Regions from separate parts of the Homo sapiens genome. Here region 2 is linked to region 1. The links are contacts of gene promoters, found by promoter capture Hi-C in blood cells and fetal thymus (Javierre and others, 2016). All regions are on one chromosome and are shown on one strand. The core of a region is centred on a gene start or on the middle of the fragment in contact, and the rest is flanking DNA. Distances in the headings are between cores, read along the strand shown.

Evidence for each region. The method cuts DNA at HindIII sites, captures the fragments that hold promoters and counts their contacts. A CHiCAGO score of 5 or more calls a contact.
Region 2: a fragment that was not itself captured here is called in contact with the fragment with the promoter of ZNF774 in region 1 in 6 of 17 cell types (total B cells, activated CD4 T cells, naive CD8 T cells and 3 more); the score reaches 8.1 in total B cells.

The regions. Positions count from the first base shown.
Region 1 is chr15:90,350,251-90,354,638 of GRCh38, reverse strand. It overlaps ZNF774 (zinc finger protein 774), which reads right to left and starts at 2,355. Exons shown (of 4, transcript NM_001004309.3): 1 at 2,228-2,355. The HindIII fragment of the contact is 4,226 bases long and covers 343-4,388 here.
Region 2 is chr15:90,623,834-90,628,221 of GRCh38, reverse strand. CRTC3 (CREB regulated transcription coactivator 3) reads right to left here. Exons shown (of 15, transcript NM_022769.5): 10 at 2,229-2,446. All of the region lies in intron 3 of CRTC3-AS1 (CRTC3 antisense RNA 1), which reads left to right. Among named protein-coding and RNA genes, the nearest start is that of LINC01585, 34 kb to the left of the region's middle. The HindIII fragment of the contact is 9,195 bases long and covers 1-4,388 here.

The sequences.
Region 1 (4,388 bases), core at 1,106-3,605:
AAGCAAGAGACCTCAATGTGCATCAGTAGCTCCCTAGATATTCTCACCATTGTCTGAAAGCCAAAAAATGGCCACCAGTGTACACAAACAACCCCCCACACCTGACCAGAATGGTCCTGAGGTAAATTCTGTCAACCACAGAGGGGTGCTTTTCTAAGTCTGTTTTTACATACGTCTTCTCCTGGCCAACTTTCCCATTACTAAGAGAGGCCTAGGCCTCCCAAACACATCGACAGAACCCAGTCTTTTAGACACATTGACTTTTTGAGGAACAAATTGTCCACGATGAACAAGGTAAACAAAGGAGAGAGTTGGCAGGTGTAATTTGATTTCTGGAAAGCTTTTGATTCTCCCCAACTTCATTTTCCTCAGCAAGCAAGGAAATTGTGGCCTTAACTATACTCATATTAGTTATGGGAGCAGCTAACTTCTTGGCTTGCAGATTTGGTGTCAACCTCAAGGGACAGATTATACAGAACCCCAAAGGGAACTGTGTTGGATACCATTCTATTTCAAGATCTTAATGGAGTCAGAAATAAGACTGAAAAAGACATTTTTTTTTTAAAAAAAAGAAGACATGGATAGGTTGTAAAAATAAGTGAAAGTGGGAATAAGCACAAAACACAACTCTTAGGGGCTGAAACCAATCATTAATATATTAATAAATCGACAGCAATATCATGAAAAACATTACTTTTTGGAGGATAGTCAAGAGTGAATTACTGGATGGATCAGTCATTTATTCAACAATTAATATGTTGCCAGGCATAGGAGTCACATAGAAATTAAGATAATGTTTTTTCCCTTAAAAAGTTTCCAATAAACCAGCCTCAGCAACATATTGAGACCTCTTTCTCTACAAAGAACTTTTAAAAATCAGCCAGGCATGGTGGCATGCACTTGTGGTCCCAGCTACTCAGGAGGCTGAAGTGGGAGGATCACTTCAGCCCAGGAGTTCCAGGCTGCAGTGAGCTATGATGGCGCCACTGCACCCCAGCCTAGCAACAGAGTGAGCCCCTGTCTCTCCCTTAAAAAAAAAAAAAATGCAGCCAGCATGACCACCCACTACAAAGAATATTGCATTTCAAGGGAGGAAGGACCAGACTGTGGTGAAGAAGTTTTACTCTTTCACATCTTTTGTCCCACTACAAATCACCTATTTACTACTGGAACACACACACACACACACACACACACACACACACACACACACTTTTGGGGGAAATATTTTTGTATTTACAGACATTATTATTGGTCATTTATAAAGTATTGAGTTTTTAAGGATCTAAAAACCATCTCTCTGGTTTAAAACTTTAACAAACAACAATAATGTAATTAGAAAGTAAAAATTGTAATAAGAGTTTTCAGTATTGGCCAGGTGCTGTGGCTCATGACTGTAATCCCAGCACTTTGGGAAGACGAGACGGGCGGATCACCTGGGGTCAGGAGTTCGAGATCAGCCTGGCCAACATGGTGAAACCCTGTCTCTACTAAGAATACAAAATTAGCCGGGTGTGGTGGCACACGCCTGTAATCCCAACTACTTGGGAGGCTGAGGCAGGAGAATCGCCTGAACCCGGGAGGTGGAGACTGCAGTGAAAGGAGATAGCGCCATTGCATTCCAGCCTGGGCAACAAGAGCGAAATTCCGTCTAAAAAAAAAAAAGAGTTTTGAGTATAATTTTTATTTCTACATTCATTACAAAACACAGCTGCAGGGCCCACTTGCTGGAGACAGCGCCACTGAGGAGGGGAGACGTCTTAGCCACGGTTATAGAAACCCTGTTTCCCAGCCCGTCCCTTTCCCCATGCACAGGTGACCTCAAAGGCCCCACAGCGCTGAGGGGCTGTGACTAAGTGCCACTGTGAGAAGCTCCAGTGCGTTCACCGGGTTTATTAATAGGAACATGACTGCACGCGTGGGGCCGAACCCCGTTCTTCTTCTCGGTGCTCGCGCCCTAACCGGGGTGCGGCGGTCAGAGGGTCACAGATCAGCTGAAACCCTGGGACCACCATCGAGAAGCAAGAAAACTGATTAAGAGAATGACTTATCCCGCCGACGGTATAGAGACCACAGCTACCTCTCCCACAGCCCAGCAAGACCCGGGGGCTCCCAAAGGCCAGCGCGGGAACCCCGCTGAGAAAACGTCTGGGTGGCGGGCAAGCCCCCTCCACGCCCCTCAGCAGCGCGCCGCTGCCGCCGCGGTCTCCCTCCTTGAATCACTCACCGCCCCAGGGCCCAGCCGGGGATGGAGCAGGAAGTGAGTCCTCCACCGCCGAGCCGCACCCGGCCCGCAACCCCGAGGCTGTGCCTCCCAGAACCCGACCGGGATTCGTGACAGGGCTGTGGGGACACAGGTGGGACTCCGGCTTCGACAGCCAGCGGCCGGAAAGTACCGCCCCCATCCTCTTGCTATTGGCTTTTCAGTTTCCATGGCTAGAATTTTTCTCTGTCCATAGGCTGATAGAGCTGTCAATTATCGCCTAGCCTTCTGGGAAACGTAGTCCCGAGCAAGACCTCAAAGGACTCGGAGCCGTGGATGTCCAGTTCCAAGCGTTGGAAAGTGCTAAACCCAATTCCCCAGCTACCGGTCCCCCGGAACCGCCTGTTTGGAGCCGAGGGATCTAAATGCTGTATCCTCACTGTGGCATCTGCAGATGTGAATCTCCTGGCCTCACCCACCTACCGCGGAGCAGCCTGGTGCCCACCATGAGGTCTCCCGCGCTCTGGCACTTCGCCCCTCCCCAGCGCAGAGCAGCTCAGCCCTCGGGCCTTTGCGGCCTCTCTTCTGCCCAGTCTTCCACCTCATCCCCGGCGGCCGGAGCCTGCAGGGTGTTTGCGGAGGCCAGGTCCCAGACCAACTCAAACTGGACATTGGAAAGGCCCAGCAGAAGCCCTTAGTAGAAAACAGACATTCCGCATCCTTCCCTTGGCATCAAACTCCCAGGCACATCCCCTTTCCGTCTGGTTGATAGCCAGAGGAGGCGGGCGAGGGCATCAAGTATTCTGGGAAATGTGATATCGGGCTTCAAACTGGGGAGGCTCCTGGGTCTCATGTGAGAGCCAGTGATCACTTTGGGTCGGCCCCTAGCTAAAAAACAACAAAGTCTTTCCTTAAAGTGAAGAAAATGTGCCTGTCTACTCCGTTTGTTGATTCAGTGCAATTTAGAAAAATAAAAGAACATTTTGTGATGTATTATAAAACGCTTAGAATTACCAGCCATAGAGTTTTTTTTTTTTTTTTTTTTTAGACGGAGTCTCGCTCTGTCGCCCAGGCTAGAGTGCAGTGGCACGATCTCGGCTCACTGCGAGTTCTGCCTCCCAGGTTCACACCATTCTCCTGCCTTAGCCTCCCGAGTAGCTGGGACTACAGGCGCCCGCCACCACACCCGGCTAATTTTTTGTATTTTTAGTAGAGACGGGGTTTCACCATGTTAGCCAGGATGATCTCCATCTCCTGACCTCGTGATCCGCCCGCCTCGGCTTCCTAAAGTGCTGGGATTACAGGCGTGAGCCACCGTGCCCGGCCCGAGTTAATGTTGAAGATCCCTTTGATGCTAATTCCACCATTCCTTCAACAAAAATAAGGTGCATTTTCCAGTGGATATTTATTGGGAACATTCTGTTCTCAAGATCGTTCTGGGGGCAGGGCGTGGTGGCTCACGCCTGTAATCCCAGCACTTTGGGAGGCCGAGGCGGGAGGATCACGAGGTCAGGAGATCGAGACCATCCTGGCTAACATGGTGAAACCCCGTCTCTACTAAATATAGAAAAAATTAGCCGGGCGTGGTGGCGGGCGCCTGTAGTCCCAGCTACTCGGGAGGCTGAGGCAGGAGAATGATGTGAACCCGGGAGGTGGAGCTTGCAGTGAGCCGAGATCGCGCCACTGGACTCCATCCTGAGCGACAGAGCAAGACTCCGTCTCAAAAAAGAAAAAAAGAAAGAAAAAAAAAAAAGATCGTTCTGGGAACTGTGATTACTCGGGAATCATACATAACCATTACCTTCATGAAGTTCACAGGCCAAAAGGGGAAATAAACCATAAAAGGTATCAAAATCCTAAGTAATTTTTTTTTCCATATAGCCAGTGGCATCTTAGTTATTTTGCTACACAATTATAGTCATCTGCAAGGTAACTACATTGCATTTTCGGAAACTCTGTCGACTATGAACAAATGTCTGGTTAGCAGAGGTAGTTAGACGTAGTTAGATTTAGTTAGACGAAATTGAGGAAAATGGAAATCTCAGAGGAGGTCAGTAACAAAGTAACACCCAGGAAACCTAGGGATTGCCAGTCCTCCTGTAACTGGAACAGAGTTCAGGACCTGGAGAACCGAAGGCATCTTCAGACCCCTCGGTAAGTCTTTCTAGCATTTTGCCATTAAGGA
Region 2 (4,388 bases), core at 1,282-3,781, 270 kb before region 1:
TTTTTGAGACAGAGTCTCGCTCTGTCACCCAGGCTGGAGTGCAGTGACATGATCTCAGCTCACTGCAAGCTCCGTCTCCCGGGTTCACGCCATTCTCCTGCCTCAGCCTCCCAAGTAGCTGGGACTACAGGCATGTGCCGCCACGCCTGGTTAATTTTTTGTAATTTTAGTAGAGATGGGGTTTCACCGTGTTAGCCAGGATGGTCTCGATCTCCTGACCTCGTGATCCACTCGCCTCGGCCTCCCAAAGTGCCGGGATTACAGGAGTGAGCCACCGCACCCAGCCTAAAATTCTTAAAAATAATTTTGCCGGCTGGGCGTGGCTCACGCCTGTAATCCCGGCACTTTGGGAGGCCGAGGCGGGTGGATCATGAGGTCAGGAGATCAAGACCATCCTGGCTAACAAGGTGAAACCCCGTCTCTACTAAAAAAATTAGCCGGGCGTGGTGGCAGGTGCCTGTAGTCCCAGCTACTGGGGAGGCTGAGGCAGGAGAATGGCGTGAACCTAGGAGGCAGAGCTTGCAGTGAGCCGAGATGGCGCCACTGCACTCCAGCCTGGGCGACACAGCAAGAGTCTGTCTCAAAAAGAAAAAAAAAAAAGAAAATACAGAAACTGACATTGGTTCTGACATGTTCTGGATAAAATAGTGCTTTTTTGAGAAGACAACCAGTGACTAAACATAAGATCTTCAGCTTGAAGCAAAGTGTCAAAGGCTGTACTGGAAAATGCCAGCTTCCCTGAGACCCAAAGGAGCTATGTGCTGATGCTGCTTTACTTCTGGGACCCTAGATATCTTCATACATTGAGGATTCACCCAAAAGGTGAATTGCCCAGACTCTGAATCTGGGCATAAAGGTTTCGAGAGTTTCTCCTGTGAAGCAAATATCAAATTTCTCCTATGAAGCAAATGTATAAATATCAAAACTGAGACTCAGTCGATGAAAAACCTGCTACTATTAAGGATACTAAAATGACCCAAAAAACAAAAATAAAGGTGTTCTCTGAAATCAATTCTTCAAACCTAAGATTGTGTTGCACCAGGCAGCATCACTGCAATCATTAGAAAAACTTCCAGGTGACCCCCCCTGAAGGGGACCACTCTCATTTGGGTGGTGAGTTCTGATTTGCATGGATGAGTCTCAGAGTGAAAGGCAGCAAACACTGCTTTCACCTGGAGACCATCACTGAGCATCCCTTCCAAATGAAATGCTCCACAACACAATTCTGGGTAGGACTGTTACGGCCAGGGGCTGTACTGCACCACTGGGAGTAAGAGGATTATCACCTGCCCTAGACATTGACAAGGGTATGTCAGTGGTGGCTCACGCCTGTAATCCCAGCACTTTGGGAGGCCAAGGCGGGTGGATCACTTGAGGTCAGGAGTTCGAGACCAGCCTGGCCAACATGGTGAAACCCTGTCTCTACTAAAAATACAAAAACGATTAGCTCGGCATCGTGGCACATGCCTGTAATCCCAGCTACCCTGGAGGCTGAGGCAGAAGAATTGCTTGAACCTGGGAAGCAGAGGTTGCAGCGAGCTGAGATCGTGCCACTGCACTCTAGCCTAGGTGACAGAGTAAGACCCCATCTCAAAAAAAAAAAAAAAAAAGTGTCAGGCTTCAAACAAATGTAGTCATAATTTCAATATGGGGTCTGAGCTGTGGACAATCAAACCCAGAGAGTAACACCCAAGTCCCATTATGGGTAGCATCTTTATATAGCTAATGCTACATCTTTAACTGGAACTGTGGGGGATTTCTACTTCACACACAGATATTAAGTATAAATATTTTCATCATATCCACTGTAAATTTTCTAAAATGCAGAATATTGCCTTTAGAAATCTAATGGAAAATGAAAGGAATCCAGAGAGATGGCCTAAATTATAAATTATCATATGTTGATGACAGCCACTAATACTGTTCAGCCAACACGGAGTGGATGCTTATTTCTTGGCTCCCATATCTTATTCCCCAAGTCCCTGGATAGAGCAGCGAGTGAGGATGATAAGGAATGAGGTTCAGCAGAGCTGCCCCAAATTCATCAACCCAGGAGAAACAGAAACATCCAAGAAAAATGTCCGCAGGGTCAGGAGATACAAGAAGGTACATTATCATCTCTAACTGGGATGCAGTCATTCTCATTCAATGATTCACTGAACAGGCCACATGGGTGGGGACCACCTATGATTAAGCCACCAGGTCACTGCTAAGCAGGAGATACTCACCAGAGGAGCTTCTTATACCCAGGTGGGTCATAGCAGCTGGGATGTTGTTCACACTATTCCCCACACTCATACTGCCAAAGTGGTGGTCGGTGGTGTCCAGGGAGGCTGGCAGGGGTGTCGAGTAGTGGAGGTTGGTTAGATCTGGCAATGACCCTCCAGTGTTCAAGGTCCCCAAGAAGGGTGAGAGGCCTAGGTTTTGACCATTATGTGGAAAAGCACTGAAAAAAGAAAGATTAAGAATGACTTTCTACAATGTATTTGGCTGTTGGGAAACCAAACATGGCTGAAACCTTTTCCTTGTCAAATAAGAGCAGTGGCTACAAAAGACCGAGGTCCTGGTGCGGCCTCTCTGATTCTGAGAACACTGGTGCTCGGCTTAACCTCTCCGAAACACATATCCTCACCCACTACCTGTGCCCACATTACAGGAATACTAGATTAGGGTCTAGAATAATCAAGACCAGATTAGATTATGGATGCAAAAGTATTCTGAAAATTATAAACCACTCTATAAAATGTGAGGCACTGCTATTTATGTAGTTCTTTTTGCTAGATTTTTAAGTTATCTTTGCTACCAGAAAAAGTATCTCTGAGTAACTAGCTACCTTCCAATATACCTTCCAAGATATATTTTTAAAATTACAGTCTTCATAAACTTTAAAGTGACAAAGAGATGTTGCCATTCATTCATCACAATCTATGGGCTAGGCACTGTGTGCCAGGCAGCGGGCCGCATGTTGGCGGCACCATGATGAACAAGCAGGGCGAGTGTGTCCGCCGGGGTCAGGCCTACTCCTGAAATGTACAGGCCTGGAGCAAGAGTATAAAAGAAGGCCCGCATACCATCTGTTTCCATTTTTAAAAGTTATAAATCAAATGAACAAACCCTTACATGAACTTTGTTCTATGTGTCTATCCTGACATATTATACCTTCATAATAGCCTGTGAAGCCAGATTTACATGTAGAATTCTCAGACTTCTTGGAGTTCTGTGCCAGAATGCACAGGGAGACAGCCTGGCCCTCAGTCCACGTCCCCTTCTCTTCCCCCTAGTTCTGTTCTGTACTGCAGTACGCACATAGCTATCCCAGCCTATGCAGCCAAACTCTGTCCACACCCTGCTGACTCTCTAGCCACCCCCCAGGCCTAGTGCGTATACACTGGTGGTACGTTCCCTTTGGGAATGAAGCCCTCTCAAGGGCGGGGCCCCAGGGAGGGGCCTGCTAGCCAGGTCTGAGAGGACCTTGTTTTGGAATTCACAGATGGGCAGGAGAGACAGCCTGGGAAAGCAAGTAACTGCAACGTGGCAGGAAGCGCGCTATGCTGGGTTTGAGAAGGGGTGTGTGTAACCAGTGCATATAAGTGACACCGGGAGCAAAAAAGCAGGAGTTGTCCATGTCAGGATGGGCTGTGGAGGGGACGGGTTTGCCATGGATGTGACACAGTGTGTGCGTGGAATTAAGAGTAGCTGGGCATGGCTGAGGTGTCAGGTGTCAGGGCAGAGGGTGAGGAGGGAGGGTGGCACATGGGGAGGGAGAGGCAGGCGGGAGAGAATGTGCTGTTCTCAGGAGTCTGGATCAGGGACTGTGGAAAGAGGGAGGCCAGGTTAAGCTGGAGAATGGCGTTTCAGAAATGTCACTGTGGTTCCAGTGTGGAGGATGGCCTCAGCAGGCAGAAGGAGAGGCAGGGAGAACCAATTAGAAGGACCACCTGCAGTGGTCCAGGGGTGATATAGGAAAAGAGCAGTGAGGGTGACGCGGAGGAGAATGCGGGAGAAGGTGCCACCAGCCAGGAGCAGAGGGAAGTCACGAATCCTGAGGACACTTCATTCCCTCCTGCACACATCAGCAGAGCACCTCCCAGGGGCCAGCCACTGGCATCAGGGCTTCAAGAGACTGAGCCATAAGGAGCATAACCGGCAACATAATACAATTCAGTAGTGCAGTGATAGAGCCTGGAGGGAGGCCATGTGGAGGGAAGCCCAGCTGACCTGGGGAGGCTTCCTTGGAGGACATCTGAGCTTAGTTTAAAGGCTAAAGAACTCAGGTGATCTAGTCAGGAAAAAGATTTCAGGCAAAGCTCACAGCATGCGCAAAAGCAGGGAGGTGTGAGACCACATGGTGTGCCCTCAGAACTGTGAGGATTCAGACCACGGGAGGT